Regions from separate parts of the Homo sapiens genome. Here region 2 is linked to region 1. Evidence: promoter capture Hi-C in 16 types of primary human blood cells and fetal thymus (Javierre and others, 2016). All regions are on one chromosome and are shown on one strand. Each heading gives the region's core, a stretch centred on a gene start or on the middle of the fragment in contact. The rest is flanking DNA. Distances are from core to core; before and after follow the strand shown.

The links. Contacts are between HindIII fragments. The CHiCAGO score rates a contact against its expected background, and 5 or more counts as called.
Region 2: a fragment that was not itself captured here is called in contact with the fragment with the promoter of LENG1 in region 1 in 2 of 17 cell types (fetal thymus and naive CD4 T cells); the score reaches 8.8 in fetal thymus.

What each region holds. Positions count from the first base shown.
Region 1 is chr19:54,158,264-54,161,338 of GRCh38, forward strand. LENG1 (leukocyte receptor cluster member 1) reads right to left here and starts at 1,458. Exons shown (of 4, transcript NM_024316.3): 1 at 1,301-1,458; 2 at 19-198. The coding sequence starts at 1,432. It overlaps TMC4 (transmembrane channel like 4), which reads right to left. Exons shown (of 15, transcript NM_144686.4): 12 at 2,867-2,997; 13 at 2,615-2,770; 14 at 2,204-2,282; 15 at 1,845-2,111. The coding sequence ends at 2,043. RefSeq lists an enhancer at 791-1,460. The HindIII fragment of the contact is 1,716 bases long and covers 1,037-2,752 here.
Region 2 is chr19:53,519,357-53,522,431 of GRCh38, forward strand. It overlaps a transcript of ZNF331 not described here. Among named protein-coding and RNA genes, the nearest start is that of ZNF331, 17 kb to the right of the region's middle. RefSeq lists enhancers at 368-1,142, 1,143-1,916, 1,407-1,606, 1,917-2,690. The HindIII fragment of the contact is 293 bases long and covers 1,629-1,921 here.

The DNA.
Region 1 (3,075 bases), core at 208-2,707:
TGGGTGAGGCCAGCTTACTTTCTCCTGTCGCTTTTCTTCCTTGTACTCTTTATTGCCTCTGATCACTCCTTTCCCTTCCTCCAGCAGCTCCCGAAACAGGTCCACAGGGCCAGAACCTGGGGCTCCCGCCTCTGCTGCTTCAAGCTCAGGCAGTGAGTTCTGATGTCTGGCTTTCTTCCGTAGGAATTCTGTACGGGCCTGGGGAGAAAGTTATAGGCAGGACATTCAGAACCTAGAGGTAATTCAAGAACTGTGAGTCTGGTGCCCACCACAGAAAATGGCAGTCCAGGGTGCTGGGGTTATGAGAAAGGGAGCACTAGGCGCCTAAAAGAGGCACCTGTCCTAGCTGGGGGTGAGGGTAGGCAGATGAGGCAACGCCTGGGTTTTGTAAACTCCCTTTCAAATAGTAAACCACGGGTCATCAAGGATGTATGGGAGGAGGTCCCTGGCCTAAACCAAAGGGGTTCCTAACCTCAAGTGAGACAATTAAAACAGCCATAAAGGTATGCATTAGGCCAGACGATCTGAATTCTAGCCATGGCTCCAAGTGACTACCCCAAGTCTGCTGAAGCCCTGTCCCCTGCCTTCAGGACGCGGATTTCAAACAGCGCTCAGCAGCCTACTGAGATTCTAAAAACCTAGACTACCTCCCACCCACGGCGGAGGATCAGACTAGCTAAGGAAATGAAAGTTGGGTGTACACCAAACAGATTTAAAGAGCCATACGGAAAGCCCGTGTTTGTGTGTATGTGTCTAGGGGGCGGTGCACGAAAGGGCTCGCCCGATGGCGTGGAGCCTGGCTGTCCGCCTCTCCTTAAAATGTGCCTTCCCCTCACTGAAGCCATCTCACTTCGTGCAACAGAGATGACAGTGCCCCTCTAAGAACGAACAGTGCTTATTGGGGATTCCGCAAGTCAGGTGCACGGCATGTAGTTAGCATACAGTAGATGCTCAATAAATAGGCTGTGCAGGCAAACTAAAAAGTGATCCGAATTTCCTTGAACTGTCCAAGGGTTCACGGATTCATTAAATGTTAAGCTTCTCTTTTGTGCTAGACACTGTTCCAGCCATGTGAAATACATCAGTGGGGGAAAAACTAAGACGAGGGCGAGATCAAGGAAGGTTTCGTGGAAGTGGGCACAAGGTTTGCGGGGCAACGTCCTCGAAAGTGGGATCGGCGCCTGGTCCCGAATTTCACACGGGGCACATTGAGCCTGCGCAACGCCTCCGCTTCCGGCCCCCAACCGCGGCGCCTGCGCGCTGGGCCCCGGAGCGCCGCCCTGCCGGCTTCCGAGCTTACCTCTTGCTGAGCCAGCAGCACCCTCCGCTCACGCTCCTTCTCCTCCTCCCGGGCCTGGGCCTCGTCACGCCGCACGCGGGCGACATTGTCCTTGTTCCGGACGTGCCAGCTCTTCTTGGGCAAGATATTCATGGCGTCGTAGCTGTCCAGGGACTGGCACGCCCGCCTCTTTGCACTTCCGATTGGCGAGAGGATGCCCCCCTTTTTCTTGTCCCTACTTCGACCGCGGATTGGTTCCGAATTAGTTGGTACGGCCCCCTGGCCTGTAGCGACAGGTGATTGGCTGAGACGCCCTTTATCACAGCGAATGCTAGGCGTTCGGCTCGTGGTATCCCCTAGCAACCGCCTCTTGTCACAGATCTGAACCAATCATAAGTTGGCCCGCCCCTGATGCTACCAGATGCGGCCGTCGATTGGCCGACATGACCGACAAGTCTCCTTGCGGAAGAGCGCTCTGCACCGACAAACATGCCCGTACATTTGATTGGCTCCTGCCCCGCTGTAGCCCTGCCCCCACCTTCAGGACGCAGATTTCAAAGCGCGCTCAGCAACCTCGGCTGTATTTATTGATACAAGGAAGATCACCCGAGAGTCAGGGACGTGGCGGCGAGGGGCCCTGGAAATCTCCAGATACCAAAGCTGGAAGGGCGTGGAGTCTTCTCCAGTTCTCCTAGTTTACAGATGTTGTGACCTAGGCTTACAATGGGCCTGGGGTCTGAAAGCGGGACGTGGGCTGCGGGGGTCAAAGAGCCGGTTTGGTGGAGGTCAGCGCCACAGCGCGCCGTGCCAGGAAGACTTTATTCTGCGCCTCCTGGGGCAAAGAGAGGTGGAGGTGAGACAATCCTCTTCCCCAACCCCTTTCCATGTTCCCCAGGGGCCCTCTCAGGGACCCGCCTGGCTCACCGTCTCTCTCTGACGTTTGAGCTCAGAGATGAGGCGTCCGTAGGAGTTAGCCAGAGCCACAGTGTACGCCATCAGGATGCTGAAGGAGACAGGAACGGAAGCCACTCCTGACACGCTCTTCCATTATATCCAAACGTCTGGCTCCTTCGAAGCCAGGGATGTGGACGCCTAAGCCCCTCCTCGTCTGGGCTCAAGGAGTTCAGTCTCCCAGCCCCTCCGCCTTCAGATCCAGGAGTCCTACGTCCCGCCCACCTCCTCCTTCGGACCCAGCAGTCCAGGAGCCTAGGCCTCCTCCCTCAGACTCAGTACGTTGCCTGCTCCCACGCCCAAGCCTCTCCTCTCTTGGACGCAGGTGGTGGCCCCCAGATCACACGCATTCAAACCCAGACCCAGAAGTCTGGGCCGTCTCACCTGGAGATCAGCAGAAGGGGCACAGCAAAAGCCTGGGTCCCCAGGAAGAAGAGGAAATTCTGGGTGGTCTCAGGGAGGCTGGAAATAGACTCAGGGATCTGGGCCCAGATGGACGACTGCCCCCGGAATGGACCACACAGCTTAGAAGGCGGGATCCTGAAGTCAAGACAGGCTGGGCTCACATAGTGCCAGGAGTCTGAACACTGAATGGGGAGAGAGGGAGGGAGAGAGGCGGGAGCCTCTCGCACTTACAGGAAGATGCTGTAAAGCAGGGGAACGCTGGAGATGGCCAGACCCAGGAGAAGGACCAAGGGGAAAAAGAAATTCGCCGCGGAGGCCCGGAAGGTGCGGGCAGCCGGGGAGCAGGTGGAGAAGAGGGTAAGCTGGTGGGGGAAGGCACGGAGAAAAGGGCTCTGAAACACAAGAGTCTGTGCCTCCATTTTTTTTTTTTTTTTTTTTTG
Region 2 (3,075 bases), core at 525-3,024, 640 kb before region 1:
TGGTCAAAGTGAAACATTTCACAGGGGTTCAGGCAGTGAGAAATATCCTGCCTAACCACCTGACCACAAGGCGAACAAAGACCCAATTAAAGAAACATTCTCATCATGTCCTACTGGGCAAAGGCCCAACTACAAAAACCATCCCTATCATATCTTTCTTGGCAAAGGTCCAAGGAACATCCTGATGAGATCCCACCGGAAAAAGGGCCAAACCGCCTGATCATAAGAACATCTTGTCAATATCCTGCCGGGCAGCAAGCCATACAGCCCAGGCCTCTCCCGCCCATACCAAGGTAACACTCACAGAGACATCTGAAGAGCCAGGCAGTGCTCCCAAGTCTGGGACAGCATCAGAGAACGAAACGCAAAGTCCTGCCCTTACAGAGAGAGCCTTGGCACAGACCCAGTCAGGACCAGGTCACTCCCGTGGAACCTACTCAAGGTCCCTACACACATGCCTGGAGCTCCCCAATCTACTGGGGGGTGGGGGAAAGGGCAGTGCTGAAACGTCCCCAAAATCTCACATGTAAACACCCTACCTAACACTTTCTAGAGGCATTTCCAGCTCGGGGCTGTATTTCCAAGAACGCTCTGGAGGCACAGCTCTTTTCTAAGGAGGGCCATGTTGCATGCTGGGAAATTTTTGAACTTTTCCCAAATCACAGCTTTTAAGCTTTCCGGGCTTATTATTATTATTATTATTATTTTGAGACATTGTTTCACTCTTATCGCCCAGGCTGGAGTGCAGTGGTGTGATCTCGGCTCACTGCAACCTCTGCCTCCTGGGTTCAAGCGATTCTCTTCCCTCAGCCTCCCAAGTAGCTGGGATTACAGGCACACACCACCACGCCTGGCTAATTTTTGCATTTTTAGAGCGATGGGGTTTCACCATGTTGGGCAGGAGGGTCTCGAACTCCTGATCTCAGGTGATATACCCGCCTCGGCCTCCCAAAGTGCTGAGATTACAGGCGTGATTTCTGGTCGTTTCAGACTACATTTCCTTCCCAGAAGGACGCGGGGACACGCCTTCCCTATGGACGGATCCCAAATGCAAGTTGTAAGCAATTATAACTGTAGGCCCCTAGAGCCTGAACCACTTTTCCCAGGAATTTTTTGTGGTGCGCCTTAGGAGCAAGCAAAGTTTCAGGGCAGGAGAAGGCCGACAGGGCTTCCAGCATTTGAAGATTCTGCCAGTCTGAAATACGCTTTCCCAGAAGTCTATGGGGGGTGCAGCTGCTCTAACAGTGGGAGGAGACACCGACGAAAAGCATTCTGACGGCCGCGCTTCCAGCGCTAAGGATTCCCGCGTAGTGAGCATTTCCCAGAGGTCTCTGGGGCATGGCTCCATTAGGGCCGTGTGCAGTTGCCTGCAGGGAAACACTGATGGGCGCCCTTCCAGATACGTCGATTCCCGGGTTATGAGCTACATTTCCCAGAAGCCCTCAAGGCAGGACGCCCTTAGGGTCGCGTAGAGTTGCATGCTGGGAAATCCTGACAGCCGCTTCCAACTCTGTGGATTTCCGGGTTATGGACTACATTTCCCAGAGGCCTCTGGGTCACGGCTCCATTTGCGCCGTGTAGAGTTGCATGCTGGGAAACACTGACGGGCGCCCTTCCAGCTGCGTCGAAGCTTCTCTGGTTTCGCATTACATTTCCCAGAGGGCCTTGGGGCACAGTCCAATGAGGAGCGAGCCGGGTGGCCGGCTGAGGGGCGTGCTTCATGCTCGCGGGATTTTTAAAAATGGTTTCTCCTGGATCTTATCCCAACTGCGCCTGAGACCTTGTTTCACCTCCTGATGTGCTGGGTGTGGTTAGGCCTCGAGCCGGGAGCTATTTGCCTCCCAGGAGGAAGCCAGGGCAGGGTTCCGCGGGGAATGGCGGTGAGGGAGCCACTCGGGACGCGGAGGCCCTAAAATGAAGAAGCTTCGGCCTGAGGCTTCGGGAGCGGCGAGCAGGGAAGTGGGAGTGTGTGTGAGTGTGTGTGTGTGTGTGTGTGTGTGTGTGTGAATAAGCCAGAGGCTGCCTGGTGGGGCCCCGCCGTGGCCCAGTGACTGAGATAATTGTCTTCGTCTGTGGGGTAATGCGAACAAGCCCCGTTCCCCTAAGCCGTGATGCATGCGGGGTTGACGCGGCCGGGCTCTGTCCCCATAAACTGTGACACAGGTGTGTGTAGACGTCTATGAGGGCCATAGCGCCGGGCTGTAAGGGCATCTGTAGGGGTGACGCAGCCGGGCTGTGTCTCTGCACCTCCGTTCTGTGCGAGGTCAATGCTGGTGGGGTCTGCAGAGGTGGCACGGCCAGGACGGGTCTCCGTGTCTCTGAAATGTGCCTTTGCACTTCTGTCAGGTTGACAGGGACAGGCAGTGTCCCTCTGGTGTGAGCGTCTGTGGGTGTGAAAGGGCCAGCGAGTGTGCGGCTGTGACTGGTCGGGATCGGGCCTGGGTGCATGGCCTTTTGAGTGAGCACAGGTGTGTGCGACCATGTCACCTGTCTTTCTAGTGTCTCCGTTGCTTCCTGTGCCTTGGCCTTCCAGCCATGTGGTACCTGCTAGGGAGCAGTGGTCCCAAAGTGACGTGAGAGGCTCTACGCTATTGTGAAAATGACCAAGAAGAAGGCTTCACAAGTCACGAGATGGCAGTTTTGGAGCCAGAAGTGCTCTCCGTGCACACTACCTGGACGACAAGAGGAAGTAACCTCAAGAATAGAATTCCTTTTGGGGAAGAAAGAGGTACCTGACATGGGAGGCGGGGAGGTGGTGAGAGGGGCAGCTCCATGTTTCAGAACCCCAGTTCCTAGAGTTTTCCAGCATTTCTCTGAAAAACTCACATGCCTGTGCCCTCTTATTTCTGATTGATTTTAACTGTGGTCTGGGGACAAGTGTGCCCTATTTTCTTTCTTTGTTTTTTTTTTTTTTGAGACAGAGTCTTGCTCTGTCGCCCAGGGCTGGAGTGCAGTGGTGCGATCTCGGTTCCCAGGTTCAAGCGATTCTCCTGCCTCAGCCTCCCAAGTAGCTGGGACCACAGGCGCACGCCACCATGCCCAGCTAATTTTTGTATTTTTAGTAGAGACGGGATT